Regions from separate parts of the Homo sapiens genome. Here region 2 is linked to region 1. The links are contacts of gene promoters, found by promoter capture Hi-C in human tissues and cell types (Jung and others, 2019). All regions are on one chromosome and are shown on one strand. Each heading gives the region's core, a stretch centred on a gene start or on the middle of the fragment in contact. The rest is flanking DNA. Distances are from core to core; before and after follow the strand shown.

The links. Contacts are between HindIII fragments. The study calls those that stand out against the background at their distance.
Region 2: a contact is called between a fragment that was not itself captured here and the fragment with the promoter of IL17D in region 1, in 1 of the 25 tissues and cell types used here (liver).

Annotation. Positions count from the first base shown.
Region 1 is chr13:20,702,242-20,709,105 of GRCh38, reverse strand. IL17D (interleukin 17D) reads right to left here and starts at 5,407. Exons shown (of 2, transcript NM_001385224.1): 1 at 4,815-5,407. The coding sequence starts at 5,104. RefSeq lists silencers at 4,586-5,095, 5,386-5,525, 5,946-6,025. The HindIII fragment of the contact is 9,244 bases long and covers 2,968-6,864 here.
Region 2 is chr13:20,642,632-20,649,495 of GRCh38, reverse strand. It overlaps IFT88 (intraflagellar transport 88), which reads right to left. Exons shown (of 26, transcript NM_006531.5): 19 at 5,891-6,041; 20 at 4,538-4,653. Among named protein-coding and RNA genes, the nearest start is that of IL17D, 58 kb to the left of the region's middle. The HindIII fragment of the contact is 3,594 bases long and covers 573-4,166 here.

The DNA of each region.
Region 1 (6,864 bases), core at 4,158-6,657:
GATGCCTGATGCTAGCGTTGCTTTCTGTGTCAAGCGTTTGAGTCATTTGACCTTCCTTCCCCGGGAACAGTCCCGATCTTTGCTCATCTTTCCATGATGTCACTGGTCCTTTTCTTTTCTTTCTTTCTTTTTTTTTTTTTTTTTTGAGACAGAGTCTCGCTCTGTCATCCAGGCTGGAGTGCAGTGGTACAATCTCAGCTCACTGCAAGCTCTGCCTCCTGGTGCCCACCACCACTCCTGGCTAATTTTTTTTTTTTTTTTTGTATTTTTAGTAGAGATGGGGTTTCACCATGTTAGCCAGGATGGTCTCGATCTCCTGACCTCATGATCCTCCTGCCTCGGCCTCCCAAAGTGCTGGGATTACAGGCGTGAGCCACCGCACCCGGCCGTCACTGGTCCTTTTCTTACTGATTTGTGGGAGCTCTTTAGGAATGAGCTCTTTGTGACTTGGGTTGCAAACATTTTTTCCCAGTTTGCCCTTGTATTTTTCTTATTTTACTTTACCAAGAAGAAATGGTGTGTAATTATGTAACTTCATTTCTCAATCTTGTCTTCTGTGACTTTTGGGGACTGTGAGCAGCTAAATAGGGCCTCCTCCACTCCAAGATTATAAATATAATTGCTTGTGTTTTTCTCTGCTTTTGTGGTTTTTTTACATTTAAATGTTTGATTCATCTGGAATTCATTTTCACAGAGGAGTGAGGCCCAGGCTGTCCCAACACCATTTACTGAATGACCCAGGTCTCCATTCCATCCGTATGGAAAGCCACCTTCCAAATGCCTATTGTAAAACTTATCCACCTAAAGTGATCCTTGCTGTGCCCATCAGTACTCCTGACGTTCAGTCCATCTCCCTATCTGTCTTTCTCAGCATTCTCTCTGACTGCTGTGCCTTTAGGGCGTGGTGGCTTGGGCCTGTAATCCCAGCACTTTAGGAAGCCAAGGCAGGCAGATCACTTGAGGCCAGGAGTTCGAGACCAGCCTGGCCAACATGGCGAAACCCTGTCTCTACTAAAAATACAAAAATTAGCTGGGCGTGGTGGCATGCACCTGTAATCCCAGCTACTCCAGAAGCTGAGACAGGAGAATTGCTTGAACCCAGGAGATGGAGGTTGTAGTCTGCCAAGATCATGCCACTGCATTCCAGCCTGGGTGACAGAGCAAAACCCTGTCTCAAAAGAAAGAAAGAAAGAAATACCACCTGACCCTGTGCCCAGCCTGCAGGTGGGCACTCCTCTACCCAGGCCCCACCCTCAGACACTCCACCAAGGAACAAGCCCTGGCCTGGCACCATGGCTTACGCCTGTAATCCCAGCACTATGAGAGGCTGAGACAGGAGGGTCACTGGAGCCCAGGACTTCAAGACGAACCTGGGCAACAAAGTGAGGCCCCCATCTCTAAAAAACAAAACAAAAAAACTAGCTGCATGTGGTGGTGCGCACCTGTGGTCTCAGCTACATGGGAGGCTGAGGTAGGAGGATCCCTTGAGCCTAGAAGGTCAAGGCTGCATTGATCTGTCTGTGTCACTGCACTCCAGGCTGGGTGGCAGAGCGAGATTCTGTCTAAAAGAAAAAACCTGTCCTTCCACAACATCTTTTAGTAGAGGCTCCACACTTCCATTGGCTCACTATTTCTTTTCCTTTTTTTTTTTTTTTTTTTTTTTTTGAGACAAGTTCTCACTCTGTTGCCCAGGCCGGAGTGCAGAGGCACAATCATAGTTCACTACAGCCTCAGCCTCCCTGGCTCAAACTTCCCAAGTAGCTGGGACCACAGGCAAACATGACCACACCTGGCTGTTTTTTTTGTAGTGATAAGTCTCATACTATGTTGCCCAGGCTGGTCTCAAACTCCTGGGCTCAAGTGATCCTCCCACCTCCGCCTCCTGAGTAGCCGGGGATTTACAGGTGAGCCACTGGGCCTGGCTGGGTCTCACTTTTTCTAATCTTCCCAATAACCCAAAAGATGGTGAGAGGTGATTGGAGGGAGGAGGGCAGAGAGGGCTCTCCTGGCAGGAAAATGCAGGAGCAGCTTTGGCAGTCAGCAATCTGGAGTCCCAGCCCAGCAGCCATCCCCTGAAGACTGTCCTTCCTTCAGCAAATATAAGCCACCCACCTCCGTTTGCCCATGGGGAGTGATCTCATCACTGTTGCTAAATAATATGAAAAATGATGCACATGACACCTTCAGCCACCCTGCTGCAGCTGCCACTCCTGCTCCTGGGACCACCCAGCACTGAGGTTCCACATGTGGGCAGATCTGGGTGGCCCAGACCACGATCCCCGAACCCTGTGTGTCATTCTCATCCATAACCTCCCTCGGCTCCCAGATCCTGCCTGGGGCGACATAGGTGTCATCTGTAGCAAGGGCAACTCAATTTAACTTCCCACACACAGAATGCCAGTGCTGCTAACTCTCCATGTGTCCTCCAGCCCTGCTCTGTCTCCTGAGCTCCAACCAGTCATTGTCACCTGTACGCCTTTCAGGCAGGCAAAACTCAACAGGCTTGTTACTAAATTCATTATTTCCTCCCACAACACTTGTTCCTAAGTGTATTTTCTCATTTTGCTCAAATACCATCAACAACCCAAGCCAGAAACATGAGAGACATGCCTTTGGGAGGCTATATACTACTCTTAGGCCCTTGGCCCAGCCTGTGGGGAGCCACGGGTTTGCCTGAGAGTTCGAATCTGCTATAGAAAGCAGGGCCAGCAGCTTCTGTCCAGAGAAGTTAATCTCTGGTTCTGAGAGATTCCTTATGTGGCTTTAATCCTATTTGGTATATCAGAAGCATAACACGAGGTTAGAGAAAGAAGAATGCCGTAGTCCATCCCTTCAGGTCCTGGAAATGGAGGAAGAGAGAGGAAAAGCAAGAGCACCAAGATACCAGAATGAATGGCGCCATGTGTGTGCCCTGCAGGCTCCAGCTGAAGGACAGGAGTGAGAAGGGCGGGAGGGGTCCCACCCAACTTCCCCGTGGGCAGGGGCTCTGAGGGGGCTCTGCCACAGTGAGCTTGGTCCTCTGCAGAGTAGCCAGGAGGCAGGAGGCCCTAAAACTTGGCTTCCCAGGACAGCATAGGGGTCCTGTGTGTTGTTGAGTAAAAGGAAATCTCCCTACCCAGCAGCCGGCAGGGAGAGGCTCCAGGAAAGCCCAGATGCGTTTTAGACAAAATCATCACATTTCCTCTGACTCTCCACAGCACTTGTCTTCTTTAATGAGCATCTTTCACGCTGATCCTAGTCTCCCCTTCCCACCGCGCTGCCTGAGTGAAGCCCTAGATCCTTTGGATGGAAGTGCTGGAGAGCATTGTCCAATCCATGCCCCATTGGGACACCCTCCTAAACCAGAGTGGCTGTATGGCTTCCTCCATCTCAAGTGTCAAGACTTTTTTTCTCTTTAATTTTTATTTTAGAGACGGGGTCTCGCTTTGTCACGCAGGTTGGAAGGCAGTGGCGCCACCACAGCTCACTGCAGCCTGAACCTCCCGGGCTCAATCTATCCTCCCACTTAAGCCTCTGGAGTAGCTGGGACCACAGGCACGTGCCACCACACTTCGCTAATCCTTAAAAATTGTTTGCAGAAATGGGATCTCGCTATGTTTCCCAGGCTGGTCTCGAACTCCTGGACTTAAATCCTCCTGCCTCGGCCTCCCAAAGTGCTGGGATTCCAGGCGTGAGGGTGAAGCTCTGCACTGCTGACAAGGCGGGGATCCAGCTCCTGCACCTGTCTCCAGCCTTACATCGATGCCCACCCCACAGGCAAACACCTCGCCTACGCCCCCCCACCCCCACCGCCCCCGCTCGCCTTGTGGCTCTCCCCATTTTCCAAGCGCTTTGTTCCCGCTTGCTATCAGCTGTCCCTTCCCTCAGCACTGCCTTTGTAGGCGACTTGCTCTCCTCCATCAAGACTCAGCTCTTTCACGAAGCCTTTCTTGACCTCTGTGGCCCTGGGAGGCCTTGCCCCCTAGGGCAGCTCCTCCTGCTCCAGCTAGAGGGAAGACGGTCACAGGTGCCTGCTGAGGACACTGCGGCACCCTGCCTACACGCCCCCAACTTCTCCAGCCTTCCCCTTCTGCAGGCTGTCCCTTTCTTCTGAAATGACCTCTGTTCCAAGACCAAAATACTCTCGAAACTGTTCATGTCACTTCATGCACTGCCTGATGGTGTGGTTTCTTTCCCAATTATCCCCACTCCTTCCTTAGGCTATTAAACTAGAGGGGCTCAGAGGGCGCTTCCCAGGGCTCCACTCCAGCAGCCTCTGGACCACAGGGGCACTCAGGAAATATGTGGATAGTACCGCGCACCCCCCAGCAGCACCTCCCCGGGCCCCCTGTGCAGAGTACGGTCCACATCACTGTGTCCACATCACGGAAGGGTCCCCAGCTAGTGCCTTGCGGACCCATCCAACCTGGAGGAGATGAGGTGTTCAAGAGATACGTGTTGCATAGGAAATACTGGAGGGTAAAGAGAGGAAGCAGGACTCCTTCAAGGGAGGTGGTGGGGGTGGGCCTTCGCAGTTTAGGAATTGCCCCCCAGTGCTCCAACTGCCCCGCCCCACCCCGCCTCATCGCAGCGCCCCTCGCACCCCACCCCACCCTACCGTACCCTACCCTGTCTCGCCCCGCACCACCCCACCCCTACCTGCTCCGCCTCGCCCCGCGTGCCACGCCCCCTCCGCGTCGCCCCGCCCCAACCACCTCCCCTTCCCCGCCCCACCCTCCCCGCCTGCCCGGCCTCGGCCCGGCCCCACCCACTCTCCCCGCCCAGCCCTGCCCTCCCCACCTGCCGGGCCCCGCCAGGACGCGCCCGCGGCTCACCTGTAGGCCCAGGGCGACACGCTGCGCAGGTTGGTGGGCGGCCGGAAGCGGCGGTCGGCGGGCCTGCCCCCTGCCGGGCAGCTCGCGTTGCGCGCCTGCTCACGCGGCCCCAGCTGCAGCGTGTGGTGGAAGGCACTGAGCACGCCGGCCGCCAGGCGCCCGTACAGCTGCTCCAGTAGCTCCTCCGGCCGGTCCGCGCAGCCCCGCGGCCGCGCGGGGCGCCTGCCCGCCCTCGGGGCGCCCGCGGCCCAGCTCGGCGGCAGCGCCAGCAGGAAGCCGGCTACCAGCATCCAGACCTGAGGGACAGGCCACGCTCAGCGTCCGCACGCGCCGGAGGAGCCCGCCTGCGCCCCGCGCCCGTGTCCCGCCCGCGGCGCCCGGAGCCGGCGGGCGCCTCCCCTCGCCCCGCGGAGCCAGAGGCCGGCCCGGAGGATGGGAGCCGCGCGGGCGGGCCCCAGAGCGCCCTCCCCGCCTGCCCGCCGCCCGCGGGGTCCCCGGGGCCCAGCCCGGCGCCGGCCCGCGCGCCCCCGGCCCCCGCCGCCGCCGCCGCCCCGAGCCGGGGGCCGCACGGGGGGCGGGTGCGGGGCGCGCGTGCACGTGTGCGTGTGCCTGCCGGGTTGCTGCGCCGCGGGCTGCGAGTGCTTGTGACCCGCCGCACCCTCACCCCCGGGCGCGCCATCCCTGCTCCGCCGCCAGCGAGGGAGCCCCGGAGCCTAAGACGCCCGGACCCGCCGCCTCGCAGACCCACCCTTGCCCCTGCGCCTCGTCATCCGCCCGCCCCAGCCAGCCCGCGCAGGGTCCGCGGCCCGCTTTTCCGCGAGAAGCCCCCTGTGGTCTTTCCTCGTACCCGGGGACTCGGACCGAGAAGCCGACTGAGCGAGGTCGCCGCCCGGCCTCACGGACACAGAGCGACTCTGCACCTTTCGCCTCCAGGAGCTGAAAACATTTTGTCACTTGTGCAGTGTACTCACCAGTGCCCCCAACATCTTCTCCCCCGAAAGCGCTTTCAGATTCGCGCCGAGATGGGGCGACGCGGCGGCTCTTGAGCGGAATAACCCGAAGGGCCACGCAAACTGGGGCTTCCAGCCGCGAGCATGCGGCGGGGCGCCCAGGGCCTGGGGTCGCGCGCTCAGGGCCTGTGCTGCGCCACGCAGGAGGAGGAGAGGGCTGGCCCTGCCGGGCGCGGGTGCGGGCCCGACTGGCTGAAGGAGGAGTGGGGACTGGCTTGGAAGTCTCCGAAGCAGAAAAGTGGGGCCGACAGGATGGAATTGGGGGAGGCCGATTTTGGCTCAGAGAGATTTCTCTATTAAGGAAAGCAGTCCAAGAATAGGCCCCCTGGAAGAGGAATGCGCTCAAACCCAGAGGGATTCTCCTTAGAGCTACCTCTTGAGATTCTGTACTTCGAGGAAATTAGAGGTTTTTTTAAATCTCTATTTTTAATAAGGTGGGAGGAGGCTGTTGCTCCTTTCTCCTCAACAACATGAAATGATCCTGTGCCTCTATCCAACAACTCTACAACAAAGCACTGAATACTTCCCTGACTGGCACTTTCATGGCTGTTCATGGGCATCTCTTGGTCTATGACGACGATGTTGGAGAGTTCCTACTCCGTGATAACTCAGTTCTAAGTGCAAGCAGTCACGTGAAATGAGCCTGATAGTCTGCGAATGAAGAAACTAAAACGAACTATATTATATACTTCATAACACAAGACAACGTGCTCGTTTGTTCATTCTGCAAGTAAATGCTTAATGCTTCCTAGGTGGCAGGCTAAAGAATATGATCATTTTAAAGCAGTCATGCTTTGAAAATAAACAACCCATCCCAGCTGTAAGCTTTTTGAAAGTGTACAAAATATGTAATTGATGACTCCCTAAATGGTTTGCAGCTTTGGTATTTGACTGAATTGTAAACCATTAGTTAAACTACATTTCAGTTATGCTTTGTAGGAAAAACACTTTCCTATGCATTGAATGTTCTATAACTAAGGAGCTTAGTAATCTACTGCTAAAAATCTCACTGAAATCTCCAGTTTAAGCGATTTAAGCAA
Region 2 (6,864 bases), core at 1,120-3,619, 57 kb after region 1:
TTGCAGCATCTTGTAAGTTTTAGTACATTGTGTTTCATTTTCACTTGTCTCAGTTACTTTCTAACTTCCCTGGTGATTTCATATTTGATCCACTAGTTAAGAGTGTGTTCTTTAATTCCACATACTTGTGAATTTTCCAGTTTTCCTTCTGTTATTAATTTCTAGTTTCATTACATTATGACAGAAAAAGATAATTTGTATGAGTTCAATCTTTTCAATTTATTAAGTTGTGGCCTAACCTATGGTTTATCCTGGAGAACGTTCCATGTACACTTAAGAATGTACAATCTCCTGTTGTTGGGTTCAGTGTCTTGTGTATGACTGTTAGGTCTACCTGGTTTATACATTGCTTAAGTCTTAATTTTCTTATTTATCTTCCGTGTGAGGTTCACAGACGGTAACACACATTTTTAAAAGTATTAAGTCTCAAACTAATATGAGGTCTATTTCACCCTTTAATTATATCAATTTTTGCTTCATATATTTTGGGGCTCCTCTGTTGGGTTTTTAAGTGTTGTACATTCTTGCAGTAACGAACCTTTTACCAATATATAGCATCATTCTTTGGCTCTTGTAACCTTTTGTGACTTAAAGCCTGTTTTGTCTGACAATAATAAAGCCTCCCAACTCTCTTCTGGTTACCATTAATATTTGTTTGGAATATCTTTTTCAATCCTTTTGCTTTCAACCTCTTTTGTGTCCTTGTATCTAAAGTGCATCTCTTGTAGACAGTATATAAATAGACCCTGATTTTCTTATTCAATCTGCTAAGTTTTTCTTTTAATGGGAAAGTTTAATAAATTTATATTTAATGTGATTATTGACACAGAAGGATTTGCTTCTGCTATTTGTTTTCTGCATGTGTTATATGTTTTTTCTTCCTCAATTCTTCCATTACTACTCTTTTTTGGTATTTTGTTGATTTTTTTTAGTGTACTATTTCGATTTTTAGTTATTTTCCTAATACTTTTTTATAGTGTACTATTTGATTTCTTAGTTATTTTCCTAATGATTACCTTGGGTATTATAATTAACATCTGAAACTTATAACAATCTCACTTGAACAATACAAACTTATTTTATTTATTTATTTACTTATTGAGATGGAGTCTCGCTCTGTCACCCAGGCTGGAGTGCAGTGGTGCGATCTCTGCTCACTGCAACCTCCGCCTCCCGGGTTCAAGCGATTCTCATGCCTCAGCCTCCTGAGTAGCTGGGACTATAGGCACCTGCCACCACACCCAGCTAATTTTTGTATTTTCAGTAGAGACAGAGCTTGGCCATGATGGACAGGCTGGTCTTGAACTCCTGACCTCAGGTGATCTGCCTGCCTGGGCCTCCAAAGTGCTGGGATTACAGGTATAAGCCATCACGCTTGGCCAGGATACAGAATCCTTGGTTGACAGTTTGTGTTTTGTTTGTTTGTTTGTTTGCTTTTAAATTTCAGGACTTTACATCATTCCATTGCTTTCTGGCCTCCAAGGTTTCTGGTGAGAAATCTACTAATAATCTTACTGAGGGTCCCTGTATGTGATAAGCCACTTTTCTCTTGTTGCTGTCGAGATTCTCTCTTTGTTTTTGGACAGTTTGATCATAATGTGTCTCATTGTGGATCTTTTAGTGTTTTTCCTACATAGAATTCACTGGCCTGTGCAGACTTCTGGATTCATGTCTTTCCTCAAATTTGGGAAGTATGGCAATAATTTCTTCAAATAGTCTCTCTCCTCCCTTTTCCTCTCTCTTCCCCTTTTGGAATTCCCATAATGCATATATTGGTCCACTTGATGGTGTCTTATAATAACCATCATCACAATCAATATTAAAGAACATTACCTAATGCTGCTGAAGAATGGAATTACATTAAGTGGACCAGTCAGAACTAGGGTTTCTTGATATTTTAAGACATGATTTATGAATGTAAAGAAAATAAAACAACAGTTTATGCTTAAACCAATTGCCAAAACATCATATTATTAAAAACCATAAAAATCTAAGAGATACAGCAAGGCAAGGAGTTTCTATGGTAAAGAAATTTAATTTAATTCAACTATATGCCAAGTTGACATGTAAAGAATATTTAAAGAATATGTAAAGAACTATGTGACATAAGAACTAATACTCTCACTTCTCAAAAAGCCTACATTTTTATTGTAGAGGTAGAACTTACAGAACAAATCAAAGCTTAGCATGTAAAAAAGAGAAAATGTGAAAAATTAAGATATATGGTATAGAAAACAAATGCTCAAAAGAGATGTAATATAATGAATGTATATTGAATAAGTTTCTGTCACTGAGAAGGAGATAACAGCAGGTGCAAGTGGAAGTAAGTTTATAGAAAAGTAGAGAGAAATGTTAGGAAGGTTTCTAAAAAAGGCTTCTATATTCTGGGAAACCGAGGCATAAAATACATAGGGGAATTGAAGAGATCAGAGAAACAGGAGGGAGAGAAATACTTAAGACTGATGAGCAGTGCTCATATCACACAGATTTGTGTAGCATCAATTCACCTGGTTACATAATTTACCTTTGACAGTATTTCACAGCCTGTGTAAAGGAATGGAATCAATGGCTGGAATAACCTAAGAACTGAAATCTCTTGGAATAAATGGGGTAGTAAAGCGAGAGAGAGAGAGAAAAAAAAAAACAGGAATGTTAGCAAGAAAGGGAAAAGATGTGACCAATTAAGCAATCTAGTATGGATAAGCTCAGAATTAAAGTCAGAAGGAGGCTGAGACTGCAAGATAAGGGGAAGGTCAAGAGGGGAGGTCTCAATATCACCAAAGAAAAATGCACTGGAAAATAGGGAGTATGGAAGTTGGAAAGGTAAGAGGTTATGTTCAGACAGCTGGACATTGTAACTTAAGATTTTATTGGTGTAGGCTGGGCGTGGTGTCTCACGCCTGTAATCCCAGCACTTTGGGAGGCTGAGGCGAATGGATCACTTGAGGTCAGGAGTTCAAGACCAGCCTCACCAACATGGTGAAACTCCGTTTCTACTAAAACAAAAACAAAAACAAAAACAAAAATTAGCCGGGTGCAGTGGCATGTGCCTGTAATCCCAGCTACTCTGGAGGCTGAGGCAGGAGAATCGCTTAAACCTGGGAAGCAGAGGTTGCAGTGAGCCGGGATCACGCCACTGCACTCCAGCCTGGGCGACAAAGCAAGACTCCGTCCTCTGTCTCAAAAAAAAAAAAAAAAAGATTTTATTGGTGTAAATGTGTTAGTGATAATCACAATCAGATGAGTCAGGTGACTGAACTACAGAGAGGGTAAAGATCAATGGAGTTAGGGAGGTCAAAACTTGTGGGACTAGAATAGTGATGGAAAGAAAAGGAAGAATATAAGCTAGACTAGGTAAGGTAAGGGACTGACTGTTAATCAACATCTGACATTTACAAATAGGAGTTAAAAATGGAACAGTGGCGGACTGAGCCTCAAAGAAGGAAGAGTGTTGCATGAGCTAATGGCTAATGTTAGAGTAGTATTAAGTGTAATTAAAAAGCTTACAGTGTATTACTGAAATAGCTTTAATCTTAAAGATATAATTAAACTAAAACTATCTCCTCATCCTTGGTAATTAATTTTATAATTCTCAAAAGAAATTTATGTGAAATAAATATCACAAAATGAATTGCCTAATAGAAATTCCAAACAGAAATCATTTCACTTATTAAGCATTTCTTTATCATTCAAATTATTCTAAGGGGCATTTGTTCTTAAAATTCAATATGGCCAAATACAAAGCAGAAGATGATGTATTCCAATTATTTTTGAATTGTTTTGAATCAGATATGTATAACACATTCTGATACGAACTTAAAGACACTGAAAACATTTTAATTTTTCATATATATTAATTATAAATTGAAACCAACAAAACTGTCTTGTATTAAGACTCTTTTAGAGATGAAACTTTGTCCTAGGACTGAGATAAGTCATTTTCTGATTGATAAAGGAACAATAATTGTTTGCTGAGGTGTAAGAAAAATACATAAAGAAAAGTATCTTAAAGAGGATATTTAAAAAATTCTATGCAAAGGGAAATATATTTATCACAATAAAGACCAAGTAAAATGGAATAAAATATAAGAAAATAAAAATAATTTGGCTGGGCGCGGTGGCTCATGCCTGTAATCCCAGCACTTTGGGAGGCTGAGGCAGGTGGATCACCTGAGGTCAGGAGTTCGAGACCAGCCTGGCCAACATGGTGTAACCCTGTCTTTACTTAAATACAAAAAATTAGCCAGGCATGGTGGTGCGTGACTGTAATCCCAGCTACTCGGGAGGCTGAGGCAGGAGAATCGCTTGAACCTGGGAGGCGGAGGTTGCAGTGAGCCGAGATCACGCCATTGCACTTCAACCTGGGCAACAAGAGCGAAACTCCGTCTCAAACAAACAACAAACAAACAAAAATAATTTATGAATGTCCATCAACATCTGTTCTTGAATTTACTAGGTCTATCAGATACTAATTCTAGGGATTAAAAAAACTCAAGACATGACATTAACTAAACATAAAATCCTAATGATTACTTACTGTATAAGAGAAGCTCTTTCAAAGTACTGAATAGCTTTTTCCCAAAATTGGGTGTCAATGTAATAGGCTCCAAGCCACTCAATGACTTCAATATTACAAGGAAAATACCTATATGACTGTAAAACAAATATGGAATGTAACAATACAACTTCAATGGCAACATATAATTTACTTCTTGAATACTTTACCTATTGAATAAATTTATCCAATATGGAATTTCTTAATAAAGGAGTATGAACTGTCCTAAGTACTTTGTAAATTCTGAAACTATATAATATTTAGAAAACCTAAGCTTTGCTTGACACACTTTTCAATTATCTATACTTTTGATATAACAATATATGAGCTGAGTCCAATTTAAATATTTAAAAGAATAAAAAAGAGATGCAAATCGTGCCTCAAGAGAAAAATGAACTGGTACTTCTTTTTATTATTAATATTATTAATTATTATTATTTTAAGACAGTCTCGCTCTGTCACCCAGCCTGGAGTGTAGTAAATGCGATCTTGGCTCACTACAACCTCTGCCTCCCAGGTTCAGGCAATTCTCGTGCCTTAGTCTCCTAAGTAGCTAGGATTACAGGCATGCCACAACCACATTTGGCTAATTTTTGTGTTTTTAGTAGAGAGGGGGTTTCCTCATGTTGGCCAGGCTGGTCACATACTCCTGGCCTCAAGTAATCTGCCTTCCTTGGCCTCCCAAAGTGCTGGGATTAAAGGTATGGGCCACCAGGACTGTCCTTTTATTATTATTTGTAGAGATGGGGTCTTGTTATGTTGCCTAGGCTGTTCTTCATCTCTTGGTCTTAAGCAATCCTCTCACTCTGGTCTCCCAAAGTGCTGGGATTATAGACGTGAGCCACCATGCCCAGCCCTATTTCATTTTTTCATTAAAACAAGTAAAAAACTAACTTCAGGCCTGGCGTGGTAGTAATCCCAGCACTTTGGGAGGCTGAGGCAGGCAGATCACCTGAGGTCAGGAGTTCGAGACTGGCCTGGCCAAGATGGCAAAACACCCCTCTACTAAAAATACAAAAATTAGCTGCACGTGGTGGCAGGCGCCTGTAATCCCAGCTACTCGGAAGGCTGAGGCAAGAGAATTGCTTAAACCCAGGAGGAGGAGGCTGCAGTGAGCCGAGACTGCACCACTGTGCAGCAGCCTGGGCGACAGAGCAAGACTCTATCTCAAAACAAAACAAAACAAAAACTAACTTCATTTTCCAAGAATGCTTTATTTTAAATAAATCATTTTAAAACTGGTAAGATCTTCTAAAATTTTAAAGCCTTGCTGCCTTCTTTATAACAATTCATAAAATGCTAAAACACAGAAGGAAATTAAGATAACACACCTACCTCATAGTAATATTGAAATGCTTGAGATTTATCTCCTTCACGATCATATAATTCTCCTAGCTTAGATAAAACTTGAGGATCGGTTGGAATAACACTGACCACCTGCATTAGCCATTCAATAGCTTGACTGGGATTTTCCATTAATTCATATCTTATGCAATGTCAGTTAAGGAAAACATGTTTTCTAAATTCATTAAGCAATAAGCAAACTTAAAAAACATTACAGTAACAATATTTCTTAGCCTACAGTAATGTGCTATTGTATACTGTTTCCTCTGGATATCTCAGGGGTGGAGATGGAATGCAGCAGTACTGTGGAGGTAACACTCTTGCTCCCTATGTATATAGCCTGCTTTCCCTTTTCCTCCATTACTATCCACTAAGATCAACTCCCAAATTTCTGGTAGAATTATTCAAAGTATTGTCCAAAAATTGTCCTTAATAAAAATGTCCTGAATGTTGCATCCAGTTATTCTTTTTCTTAACATGTTCAGCATATTAAGGAAATTATTTCCATGTGTTTTTCCTGTGAGTTTTCCCTAATTAGATTATAAACCCAAGGACAGTGTTGTTTTTTTTTTTTTTTGTAGCTTCCTTTTAGTACCTACTAAGTCTTCGGTGTATATACAAATAATTTATTCATATCAGTACTTTTTGATTAATTACTATTTATTTTATACATATTAGATATCTCAGTGAAATGAAAATATTCCAATTCAAAGTTTATTGAAAAAGAAGCATTGTTTTCAATGGTGACAAGAGTGACACCAGAAGATCTACTGTTTTTAACGATGACAAGTGTGATACCACAAGAAAAAAAAAAAAGAAAATGTACTCAAACAGTCTCAAATACATCAGTTGCTTGACTGGATCCAAGCTGATCATGAACTGGGTGGTAAAAGATAATGACACTGGCAGTTTCAGAGAAATTAAATGAACAAAACAGAACAAAAAGACTAACAGGAGTAACTATG